Regions from separate parts of the Homo sapiens genome. Here all the other regions are linked to region 3. Evidence: promoter capture Hi-C in 16 types of primary human blood cells and fetal thymus (Javierre and others, 2016). All regions are on one chromosome and are shown on one strand. The core of a region is centred on a gene start or on the middle of the fragment in contact, and the rest is flanking DNA. Distances in the headings are between cores, read along the strand shown. Region 1 overlaps LIPE (lipase E, hormone sensitive type). Region 2 overlaps CXCL17 (C-X-C motif chemokine ligand 17). Region 3 holds the start of CD79A (CD79a molecule). Region 4 overlaps HNRNPUL1 (heterogeneous nuclear ribonucleoprotein U like 1).

Region 1 (3,161 bases), core at 236-2,735, 540 kb before region 3:
CCTGGAAAAAAAAAAATGAACCAGGCATAGTGGTGCCCATCTGTAGTCCCCACTACTCAGGAGGCTGAAGTAGGAGGATCACTTGAGCCCAGAAGTTCAAGGCTGCAGTGAGGTATGATCGTGCCACTACACTCCAGCCCAGGTGACACAGCAAGAATCCATCTCTAAAACTAAAAATTTTAAAAATAAGAATAACAAATAATAAGACTTAAAAGTTGAAATTGGCCGGGCGCAGTGGCTCACGCCTGTAATCCCAGCATTTTGGGAGGCCGAGGCAGGCGAATCACGAGGTCAGGAGATCGAGACCATCCTAGCTAACATGGTGAAACCCCGTCTCTACTAAAAATACAAAAAATTAGCCAGGTGTGGTGGCGGGCGCCTGTCGTCCCAGCTACTCAGGAGGCTGAGGCAGGAGAATGGCGTGAACCCGGGAGGCGGAGCTTGCAGTGAGCTGAGATTGCGCCACTGCACTCCAACCTGGGCGACAGAGCGAGACTCCGTCTCAAAAAAATATAATAATAATAACAAATAACAAGACTTAAAAGTCGAAATTACTCCTTGGCTGGTGGGCTGCAGAACAGATCATGTGTTAGCGGGCATGAAAACACATTAATCTACTCCACCAGGGCCCTTTGGTAACCACATGCATTGTCATTGAGAAATATTTTGTTGTTTTCTGTGCAGTCCGTCTCAACAGTGGGCTTGAAATATTCAGTAAACCATGCTGTAAACAGACGTGCTGTCATCCAGGCTTTGTTCCATTTAAGAGCATAGGCAGAGTACATTTGGCGTAATCCTGAGGGCCCTAGAATTTCTGGAATGATAAATGAACACCGGCTTCAACTGAGTCACCAGCTGCATTAGCCCCTAACAAGGGGGTCAGCCTGGCCTTGAAGCTTTGGCGCCCAGGCACTGACCTCCCCTCCAGCTAGGAAAGTCCTGGATGGCATCTTCTTCCAATACCTGGTGGTTTTATCTACACTGAAAATATGTTGCTTAATGTAGCCGTCTTCATCAATGATCTTAGCTAGATCTTCTGCATAACTTGCTGCGGCTCCTCCAGCAGCACTTGCTACATCACCTTGCACTTTTTTTTTTGAGACAAAGTTTCACTCTTGTTGCTCAGGCTGGAGTGCAATGGCACGATCTCGGCTCACTGCAACCACCGCCTCCCAGGTTCAAGTGATTCTCCTGCCTCAGCCTCCCAAGTAGCTGGGATTACAGGCATGCGCCACCACGCCCGGCTTCTTTTTTGTATTTTAAGTTGAGATGGGGTTTCTCCATGTTGGTCAGGCTGGTTTCAAACTCCCGACCTCAGGTGATCCACCTGCCTCAGCCTCCCAAAGTGCTGGGATTACAATCGTGAGCCACGATGCCCGGCCGTCACCCTGCACTTTTATGTTACAGAGATGCCTTCTTTCCTTAAATCTCATGAATCCACCTCTGCTAGCTTCCAACCTTTTTTCTGCAGCTTCCTCACCTCTCTCACCCTTCAAAGAATTGAAGAGGGATAGGGCTTCGCTTGGGATTAGGCTTTGGCTTAAGGAAATGTGGCTGGTTTGACCTTCTATCCAGACCGTTCAGACTTTCTCCATATCCACAATAAGCCTAGTTCACTTTTTTTTTTTTTTTCCAGACGGAGTCTCACTCTGTCACCCAGGCTGGAGTGCAGTGGCGCGATCTCGGCTCACTACAAGCTCCGCTTCCCAGGTTCACGCCATTCTCCTGCCTCAGCCTCCCTAGTAGCTGGGACTACAGGCACCCACCACCACGCCCGGCTGATTTTTTGTATTTTTAGTAGAGCTGGGGTTTCACCGTGTTAGCCAGGATGGTCCCGATCTCCTGACTTCGTGATCCGCCCGCCTCGGCCTCCCAAAGTGCTGGGATTACAGGCATGAGCCACCATGCCCAGCTAAGACTGGTTCACTTTCTTATCATTCATGTGTTCACTGGAGTAGCACTTTTAATTACTTTCATGAATTTTTCCTTTGCATTCACAACTTAGCTAACTGGCAGAAGAGGCCTAGTTTTTAGCCCGTTTCAGCACTGGACATGCCTTCCTCACTAAGCTTAATCACTTCTGGCTTTTGATTTAAAATGAGAGACATAAGACTCTTCTTTCACTTGAACACTTTGAGGTCATTGTAGGGTTGTTAATTGGCCTGATTTCTATTTTATTTTATTCTATTTTTCATCTCATTTCATTTATTTGAGACAGACTCTCGCTCTATTTTCCAGGCTGGAGTACAATGGTGTGATCTTGGCTCACTACAACCTCCACCTCCCGGGTTCAAGCGATTCTCCTGCCTCAGCCTCCCGAGTAGCTGGGATTACAGGCACACACCACCATGCCCAGCTAATTTTTGTATTTTTAGTAGAGATGGGGTTTCAGCATGTTGGCCAGGCTGGTCTCAACCTCCTGACCTCAAGTGATCCACCTGCCTCAGCCTCCCAAAGTGCTGGGATTACAGGCATTAGCCACCGTGCCCGGCCTCAATATTGTATGTCTTAGGGAATATGGAGGCTCGAGAAGAGAGATGGGGGAAATGGCTGGTCAGTGGAGCAGTCAGAACACACACAGCATTAATCGGTAAAGTTCGCCCTCTTACGTGGACATGGTTGGTGGTGCCCCCACTCACAATAGTAACACCAGAGATCATTGATCACAGATCATCATAACAAATATAATAATAATGAAAAAGTGTGAAACACTGTGAAAATTACCAGAATGTGACACAGAGACACAAAGTGAGCAACTGCTGTCAGAAAAATGGTGCCAACAGACTGGTTTGACGCAGGGTTGCCACAAACCTTCAATTTGTAAAAAATGCAGTATGTGCGAGGCACAGTGAAGCAAGGTATTCCTGTAGTAAACTGTATAGTATGCTAGATGGTGACAAGTGCCGCAGAGAAAAATCACCCAATACACCATCTCAGGAAGGCCAAGTGAGCCCACAAAGCAAACCACATGCAGAACATGCCGGCCATGGCCCCACTTATAAATTATGTCTCCCACCCTGAGCCAGCAGAACAGCCAAGTGCAGTTTCCAGATGAGGAAAACAGACTCATCCAGGGTCGCCAGCAAGGGCTTGGGCCATCTTTCTTTCCTTTTCTTTTCTTCTTTCCTTTCTTTCTTTCCTTCCTTTCCTTTCTTTCTTTC
Region 2 (2,994 bases), core at 225-2,724, 560 kb before region 3:
AGCCCTGCACAGAGCAACCACGCAGAAAAGACCTGATCCCCATGTATATTTCCGCTTGTGAGCACCATCTCCCCAAAGGCCACTTTGAGGTGAAATGGCTATGTTACATACTCAGCATCAACTTGGTCCTAAAATCAGGAGGCATTCTCCCTTCTCCACCCCAATTTCCAACATCCCCTCCTTTGTAGAGAGAGTGCTCTGGAAGCTGTTAAGCCCCATAGCCCTAGGGCCTAGACCACTGTTCTGAAAGGGAAGACTTTTCCATCACTATGACAGACACCCAGGCTAGAGTCCTCTGCCTGGATTCAAAGCTGTAGCCCCAACCTGCCTTTCTAGTGTACCTCCCTCTACTCACTAAAAATACTATTTCTCCAACCAAACTAACCTGTTTGCCCTTCCCTGAACAGGTATTGTGTTTTTCCACCAGTTCAACTTTGCTCACACACCCAGCTCAAAACCACCTTCCCACAGCTTCCTTCAGTTCCTCCCACAGCCAGACATGTGGTCTCCCTCCTGAGCGCTGGCTTAGCCCTGCTGGACACTCTCTTCTTGCACTTATCATCTGCTGCCTTATATTGAGGGCCTTCATGTGCCTTTCCTGCCCCCACCCCCTGTCCTTCTAGGCTGCAAACTACTTGGTGACACAGACTGGTGCACTGTTTCCATATCCCTCACGCTATCCAGCTCAGTACTCAGCAAACATTAGCTAACTGCAAGAATGCATCCTCAGGTTGCTAAATCAAACCAGGGCTTCATAGCAGCTCTACTGACATTTGGGCTGAACAGTTCCTTGCGGTGGGGGCTGTTCTGTGTATTGTGAGATGTTCAGCAGCATCCGCGTGGCCTCTCTCCCCTACATGCCAATAGCAGCCTCCCCTCTCCCTCATCCAAACCCCTGTTATGGCAGCCAAAAATATCTCTAGACATCGCCAAATGACCCCGGAGGGGGAACCACCCTTGGTCAACAACCACTGCTCTACACCAATACTTCTCTGCATGGCCACACTTTTAGACTCACCTAGACCTTTACACTCAGCTTGGAAGTCAGGGGGACCTAGATCCTGGCTCTGCCACACACTTTGCAACCCTAGACAAGTCGCCTCACTTTTTTGAGTTTCAGTTTTATCATCTTAAAATGAAGAAAATACCACTTGTCACACACACTTGTGAAGATTAAATGATCCGCAGCGTGTCCTAGAAAGGGTTTAATAAATGGACTGAGTAGTTTCTAAGTCGCTCCTAAAGCACGAGGGTGAGGAACTGGGGAAAGCTCCCTGCGCCACCAGGGGGCGCCATCACAAACCACGTCGAGTGGGTGGCGGCCGGGCTCAAATCTTGTTTCCCAGCCAAGCAAAGTTTTGCAGTGCAGGCCTGAGTCTGAGCTACTTAGTGGCTAAAGGAAATAATAGCTCCTCCATCCCCAAAATAAATCTCAGAATAAAGTCTAATCTTATTTTATCTCTTAATCACATACATGCTCAATATGCTTTTCACAGGGTTAAGGGAAATAGAAATAAGTGAGAATATATGAGGTCATTAGGAAATAAATTACTTAAAATAACAGATTATTCATTAATTATAATATTATTTAATTATAAAATTACTTATAATATCAGACACATTAAGAACTCCTATATCACAAGCATTGTTCTAATCACTTCACACTTACTATCTCATTTGTCCTCACAAATCTAATGCATTTCTTACTTTTTCTTACTTTTCATTTTTCAGACTTTGAAAAATATTGTAAAAATAGAGTTCCAGTACAGCCTTCATCCAATTGTTTTCAAACAATATCTTATGTAACCATAATACAATTATCAAAACCAGGAGATTAGCACTGATACCATAATATTAACTAATCTACAAATGTTCAAATCTTGCTAATCATCCCACTCATGTCCTTTTTCTGCTCCAGACTCCAATCTGGGATCCCACTGAATAAAATGTCAGATCTCCTAGGTCTCCTCCAACCTGGGATAGTTTCTCAGTCTTTCCCTCTCTTTCAGGACCTTGACACTTTTGAAGAGTTCTAGCCAGTTGTTTTGTAGAATGCCCCCTGAATATGGGTTTGTCTGATATTTCCGGCTACACATTTTGGGCAAGAATACTTCAGAAGTGATGTATCCTTCTCTGGACATCCCAGCAAGAGCCCCAGGATGTCGATATCTCTCATTACTGATGAGGTTCACTTTAAGCACTTGGTTCAGGTGGTGTCTGCCAGGTTTCTCTACTGTAAAGTTACTATTCATCTTATTGTAATTAATAAGTATCTTGTGGAGAGACACTTTGGAAATATGTAAATAGCCTGTTTCTTCTCATCATACTTTTTTTTTTCTTGTTATTCACCAGTTATGGCATCATCATACTTTTAATATTAACTTTTAGAATCTATGGATGATTGTTTCCTATAAAGAATTATTACTGTGGTGTTGGCCAAATAGTGATTTTCTACTTCCATTGTTCCTTCTACATTTATTTAATCGGAATTCTGCCATAAGAAAGAGTTATTCCTTTTTCTTTTTCTTTTTTTTTTTTTTTTTTTTTGAGATAGAGTCTTGCTCTGTTGCCTAGGCTGGAGTGCAGTGGTGTGATCTTGGCTCACTGCCGCCTCCACCTTCTGGGCTCAAGCGATCCTCCCACCTCAGCCTCCTGAGTAGCTGGGACTACAGGCAGACACCACCACACCCAGCTAATTTTTGTATTTTTAGTAGAGACGGGGTTTTGTCATGTTAGCCAGGCTGGTCTCTAATTCCTGGCCTCAAGTGATCCCCCCACTTTGGCCTCCCAAAGTGCTGGGATTACAGGCGTGAGCCACCATGCCTAGCCTCTTCCTTATTTATTTATTTGTTCAGTTATTTATTTATATCAGCATGGACTCATGAGTATTTATGGGTTGGAATCCACTACTATCATTATTTATTATGTTGCTCATATTGTCCCAAAATTGGCCATTGGGAGCTCCTTCTAGTTGGCTTCTGTGACCTTTAGACA
Region 3 (2,935 bases), core at 301-2,800:
AGGGGGGATGCGGGAAAGTGAAGAAGCCCCTGGGAAGGAGAGAGGACATACCTGGTTGGGGTGGGTGAGGATATCCTGGGAGAGGAGAATGAGACTCCCTGGGATGGTAAGACCCCTGGGAGGCCCTTCTCACCTCTGCAGCGCCATCTCTTGCCCCCCTCCCGCATACCCACTTTGTACTCTGGCCCTGTGAACTCTCTGGATTTTGGATGTTTGTTCCAGGCACTGGAGGACCGCTGTCCAGACAGCTCCTTCCAGAAGCAGTGCAGGCGTCCCCTCCTCCCGCAGCCTTCCCGGTCCATTTTTGCACCCCAGCCTCAGCCAGGCCCAGCACCTGGCGCTTTTTCTTGTGTAATCATTCACAGAACCCTAGAAGTAGGTTCTCTCCTTAGCCCCATTTTACAGGAGGGATGGCTGAGGCTCTGGGAGGGCAGGCGGGTTGCCAGCATCACCAGGCAGTCAGGAGTGGCACTGGGTTCAAACTCTTGGCTCCCTGGCCTCTCCCTGCCTGGGCTGAGGAGCCAGTCTGTGGCCTGCCCTGGCCTGTGACCCTGTGCCTGGCCCTCATTCTCTGTAAGTTGTATGTGTCAACCTAGGGGTCAGGGGTGAGTTCAGTCCTTGGGCTGGGCTGCTGGTGATTGAAGGGGCTCAGAGCGGGGTGGAGACTGGGGGTGTCTCTGAGTGAGACGAGGCGGCTCAGGCTGGCTGCAGTGTCCAATCCGGGCTCCTCTGGGAAGCCCCAGCTCTCAGCCAGGCCTCCCACATGGCCAGTCCCCTCTTCTGGAGGTAGGTGGAGGAGGGAGGTGAGGAAGAGAGAAGGAGGAAGAGATGGGGAGAGGGGCCGAGCACCCTCATCGTCACGGGCTTAAGACTCAGACGTGAACTCCAATCCTTGCTCCCAGTGTCCCCTTGGGTGGGGAACCTTTTTCTCTGAACTCCTGGGTTAGCGTGGCCACAGCCCCTGCCAGCTGTCCTTGAGCAGGTGAGGGGGAGTCCATGAGACACCCATTCCCCCAGTGCTGAGAAGGGACTCCCAACAGAGAGAGGCACCTGAGGTTTAAGGCAGAGAAAGCTTTTTCTCCCCTTGACAGACGCTGAATGCTGCTACCCCTAAGTCCCCTTCCTGCCCCCAGCCCTGGTGCTCAGTCAAGAGCAACTTTAGTTCCTTATTTTGGCCTGTGGGGAACAGGAGGTGGGGGAGGTGACTCTTGCTCCTGCCTCCCTGTGTGAGACTGTGGACGCCCCTTCTCCTTCGCTGGGCTCCCTCCAGCCCCACCTTGGCCCATCTTGGCACAGATACGATTTCTATAGGCATCTTCCCTGGGTCCCCTATCCTCTGCCTCCTCTTCCCCTTTCCCTGAGCCCCCTTCCCTCTGCCTGTGCCCTCTCTGCAGCCTCCACAGCTTCCCCCACCTCCCGCCAGTTCCTGCCCTTTGGCCACATACCCAGGTAGACAGCAGACAGCAGGAAGAGGAGGAAGATGGTGGCAGGCAGAGCTTGGAGGACTCCTGGACCCCCAGGCATCTTCTCCCAGTGGGTTGGTTAGTTTGAGTTGCAGCAGTCCCAGGGTACCAGATCCCTACCCCAAACCCCACCCTACTTCCTGCCCAGCCCCCCGGAGATGGGCTCCAGTGGCCCTCGCTACTGGGCCCTTTGCTTGTTGGGCCTGGGGACAGCCCCTGCCGGGTATGCTTCAGGCTGTGAGTGGAGAGAAACTGCTCCCTGCACCTGTGGTGGCCACAATTCCCCTGAGAGGTGGCTGCTTGGGTGGGGGAAGAGGCTGGTTCAAGGGCTGGCTCGTCACTGCTGAGCCTTTGGAAGGAAGCCTAGGGAACCTGAGTCCTGGGCATGTGTCATGGGCAGGTGATGGTTCTGAGCTTGACCTCTCCCCCTGCCTGGACTTGGGCAAACCTTGTCCCTTCCCTGACCCCATTTCCTTGCTTCTTGGGATTAGAAACAAGGACTTAAAGGGGTTGTCACATGCACAGAAATGGCCCACAGTAGGCGCCCAGTAAATGTTAGTCACTATAAATACTCATGAAGAATAAATAAGGCAGGCTGACCTGTGGCTGACTACCCGTGTGACTAGGTGGGCACTTTGATCCTTCGAAGCTTGACATTTTTCATCTGTGAGATGAGGACCAGAATGTCTCCCTGTCTCATTATGTGATACGAGATGGTGTTCCTGGTATTCAAGGAGTGAGAACCATGATCAGCTCTTTACTGGAATTCTTTTTTTAAAAAAACAGGCCAGCTATGGTGGCTTATGCCTGTAATCCCAGCCCTTTGGGAGGCTGAGACAGGAGAATCACCTGAGGTCGAGTTTGAGACCAGCCTGGCCAACATGGCGAAACCCCATCTCTACTAAAAATACAAAATTAGCCAGATGTTGTGGCACATGCCTATTATTCCAGCTACTCAGGAGGCTGAGGCAGGAGAATCAGTTGAACCCAGGAGGTGGAGGTTGCAGTGAGCTGAGATCACACCATTGCACTCCAGCCTGGGTGACAAAAGCGAAACTCTGTCTCTAATAATAACAATAATAACAACAACAACATATATTTTTCTTCTTTTTTTTTTTTAAGAGGGATGGGATCTTGCTATATTGCCCAGGCTGGTCTTGAACTCCTGGCCTCAAGCAATCCTCCTGCCTCAGCTTCCCAAAGTGCTGGGATTACAGGCATGTGCCACTGTGCACAGCCAGAAGTTGTTTTATATTGACCTGCCATGACTGGCAAGGTAGGCCATCCCCCATTTTACAGAGGGGGAAACCGAGGCCAGAGAGGGGAGGTTGTCACTTGCGGGTGTCATACAGTCTAGGGGTGGTGGACAGAGATTCAAAGTCATCTTTGTGTTGCTCCCAGTTTCCTTTGAGCATGTCTGGTAGGAGGGAAATGAGGTCTGAGTGGGGAGGGCGGAGTTGCTGAGATATTTG
Region 4 (3,015 bases), core at 187-2,686, 570 kb after region 3:
TCCCTTTAAAGAGGCCCCCACCCCAATTAACGGCCAACTGCAGTAACACTTCAGGGTTTCAACCCTGCTTCCTTCCTGCTAGGAGGTGCCATGTCATTTATTCAAAGAAAACAAAACGAAACCAAACAAAACAGGGCAAACACATTTCTTAATAAGTGCAGTTTGTTAAAATCATGTTAAAACATATGAGTCAAGGGGAAGTAAAAATAAAGGGTATCACTGTAGGAAAAGCTTTTGGGTCTGGCACCTGGGAGACCACTGGAGAGGAGGCAGTGGGAGAAACTTCAAGTTCTGAAGGGAAGGAGCCCCCCAACCTCCCCTTCTTCCCTCTCACCCACTGAATCCCACCAGAAACTACCAAGACGCCCGGAATAAAAGGTTTCAAGTTCAATAGTCACTCTCTCCAAATACAAAAAGCAGTTACAATTCAACTGAACACAGAAGCTTGTGTGCAAAGTTATGGGGAACTGGGGCATCGTATAAAAAGTTGGGTTAAAGATGATTCTGTGGTTTGGTTTTGTTGTGTTTTGTTTTGTGGCTCTTCCTCAGTCACCTGAACTCAGGAAAGAAATGCTTATCTTGATGAAATATCAACAGCCCACCCACAGTAAAAAGACAAATTCTAAAAATTAAAAAAAAGCGCATAATTACCAAAAAAAAGTCACTGCTTCCTCCCCCTCCCCATTTTGCTTTTTAAACTTTTTTTTTTTTAAGTTTTGATTTTTTTTTTAATCCTGAAAAGTAGACAGTAAAACAGCTCCTGGGAGAATTTACAACCAACTGCATGAGGGTCTGGGAAGCTGAGGGGCTGGAGCAGGGTTGGGAGAGTGAACAGGAGGGGATTCTCCCCTCAGTCACTGTAGCCTCACTGTATGATCAAGGGAGGTGGGGATTATTTAGTCAAAAAGGAAGAAGGTAGGAAGAACAGGAGGTGGAAGGCTGGGGAGGTGGGGACAAACAGAAAATAAAAGGTCATTGTTGCCTGTTTGAATCCAGAAAAAAATGCCTGGCCCTATGGAGGGGAAGGAAGCCCCTCAGAGGGGAGGCAGTGGGCTGGAGGGAGGCAGCCCTGGGATGACCCCATCCCCAGCACCACGGGATCTGGCGGGGGCAGAGGAGGGGCCGAGGCAGGCGCTGGTGGAGGAAGCCGGCAGGGGCCTCCGGGAGCCTCTGGGTCACACTGGCTACTGTGTACTTGTGCCACCCTGTGTGTTCCCGGAGTAGCTCCCGTAGTCGTAGTTCCCGTAGTATGGCGGCCACTGGCCCTGGTTCTGATAGTACTGGTTCCACTGCTGGGCATACTGGGGAAAGAAACCAAGAACACCAAGTTGTCCTGCATCCACCACACATTTAGCCTCCCCACCAGCCCCACCCTCACCTAGGGCAGAGACAGCTGCAGTGACAACAGTTGAACACAGGTCCCCTGACAGAGAAATCAAGGCACCTTGGAAAGACCTGACACCACACAGGTAGGCAGTTAGGGACTGAAGCCCAGGTCTCAGCTTGTCAACCCAGTGCCTTTTGGGTATAGCTAGATATCATAGTCAAAAGATTTAGTAACAGGTATGGGGGCCTGGGCACCAACCTGCAGCAGGATTTGGAGCCCCCTGTCTATGGTGCTGAAAGAGGACTCTGAGGCCCCTGGTACTTAGGCCAGCCCTTCCCCTTCACTTGCTAGACTGTGGAGGGGGCTAGGATACCAATTACCTAGCAACCAGTGCAGAAGTGTTGACCAAATGGAATGGCTGCACCAGATGAACGCCAGGCCGAGGCCAGCAGGCTGTCTTTTTAGGGATAAGCAGGGACTTAAGTCTGGGAATACACACCCAGGAGGGGCCCATGGAAGTCTCTCCATCCAGTTGGCCCCCAGTCTGGCACCTACCTGCTGATACTGGTTATAGCTGGGCTGAGGGTAGGTCTGTGCAGTGGGGGGTGGCGGTGGGGTATAGGGGGCCGGGTTGTAACCGCCGTAGCTCCCATAGTTGTAGGCAGGTGGTGGTGGAGGTGGAGGCGGTGGGGCTGTGTAGCCCTGGCTGTAACCTCCCTGGTTGTAGGGTGGCTGGCTGTAACTCGGCTGGAAAGTGGAGGGAAAAAAGCCAAAGCTCTGTGAAATAGAGGAAATCTGCAGATGTGAAATGCTGGGATGGAAAAAGGGCCTTTTTAAGTGGTTGGCCCACAGGGGCCCTTCCCTTGCCTAGTGGACATTGTTTGTGGGCTGAGAAGGAGGAGAGCCAGCTCCATGCCATGGTAGGGCAGGATGAAGGGCAAGCCCCAGGGCTGTGATGTGGACTCTAACCCCAGCTCTGAGACCCCCAGGGAGCAAGGTACACGGCACTTCTTGAAATCTCAGTTTTCTTTTTTATAAAATGAGAATCACAATAGAACAAGAACAACTCCTTTAGCTTGCCCTGGGTATCCAATAAGCTTGTGTGTATAAACCACTGGGTACTCAACAGGTGGTGGTAGTTGTTACTGGAAGATCTGCTGAGAAACAGTAGTGGCAATTGACTAAGTGCTTCCCAAGTACAGGTTGGATCATTACATCATATAATCTCCATATAGAACCTAGGGGTAGGTCCCACTAGCCCCATTTTAAAGAGAAAGAAACTGAGGCTCAAGATGAAATTTCTGGGCCAAGGAAAAAGGACTTGACCCCAGGTCTGCCTAGTCCCAGAGCTATAGTGCCACCCATTCCTCACAACAAACCTTGGAAGGGACTTCTACTAACACCTTTATGAGGAAAATGAGGCCCAGAGACGGGAAGCTATTTGTCCAAGCTCACAGAAACAGGATGTTGTGGGGCTGGGGGTTTGGATCTGTGCCTGCCCAACTCTTGTTCTAAGAAATATTCTAGTTAGCTGGGCCTGGGAACCATCCATTGGTCTCCTGGCAGCTGATTCCAGGCCCGGCATGAGGAAAGTGCTTGGGAAATGGCTGTGCGATAACTGAAAACCTCTCTGGTTTACAGGAGCCTGTGCATACCAGAGCCAGGGCACTGGCTTTCCAAGAATGGGA

What was found. Contacts are between HindIII fragments. The CHiCAGO score rates a contact against its expected background, and 5 or more counts as called.
Region 1: a fragment that was not itself captured here is called in contact with the fragment with the promoter of CD79A in region 3 in 1 of 17 cell types (erythroblasts); the score reaches 5.6 in erythroblasts.
Region 2: a fragment that was not itself captured here is called in contact with the fragment with the promoter of CD79A in region 3 in 1 of 17 cell types (total CD8 T cells); the score reaches 5.7 in total CD8 T cells.
Region 4: a contact is called between a fragment that was not itself captured here and the fragment with the promoter of CD79A in region 3, in 1 of 17 cell types (non-activated CD4 T cells). The highest score is 6.3, in non-activated CD4 T cells.

The regions. Positions count from the first base shown.
Region 1 is chr19:42,414,282-42,417,442 of GRCh38, reverse strand. The region is part of intron 1 of LIPE (lipase E, hormone sensitive type); the gene reads left to right. The region is part of intron 1 of LIPE-AS1 (LIPE antisense RNA 1); the gene reads right to left. Among named protein-coding and RNA genes, the nearest start is that of LIPE, 12 kb to the left of the region's middle. The HindIII fragment of the contact is 1,173 bases long and covers 899-2,071 here.
Region 2 is chr19:42,438,807-42,441,800 of GRCh38, reverse strand. All of the region lies in intron 1 of CXCL17 (C-X-C motif chemokine ligand 17), which reads left to right. The region is part of intron 1 of LIPE-AS1 (LIPE antisense RNA 1); the gene reads right to left. Among named protein-coding and RNA genes, the nearest start is that of CXCL17, 2.6 kb to the left of the region's middle. RefSeq lists a silencer at 1,337-1,426. The HindIII fragment of the contact is 3,145 bases long and covers 1-2,994 here.
Region 3 is chr19:41,875,894-41,878,828 of GRCh38, reverse strand. It overlaps CD79A (CD79a molecule), which reads right to left and starts at 1,550. Exons shown (of 5, transcript NM_001783.4): 1 at 1,446-1,550. The coding sequence starts at 1,524. RefSeq lists a silencer at 1,349-1,408 and an enhancer at 2,816-2,885. The HindIII fragment of the contact is 1,040 bases long and covers 1,075-2,114 here.
Region 4 is chr19:41,304,735-41,307,749 of GRCh38, reverse strand. It overlaps HNRNPUL1 (heterogeneous nuclear ribonucleoprotein U like 1), which reads right to left. Exons shown (of 15, transcript NM_007040.6): 14 at 1,883-2,074; 15 at 1-1,301. The coding sequence ends at 1,185. It overlaps LOC105372401 (a long non-coding RNA gene), which reads left to right. Exons shown (of 2, transcript XR_935968.4): 2 at 1-211. Among named protein-coding and RNA genes, the nearest start is that of CCDC97, 3.9 kb to the left of the region's middle. The HindIII fragment of the contact is 1,980 bases long and covers 447-2,426 here.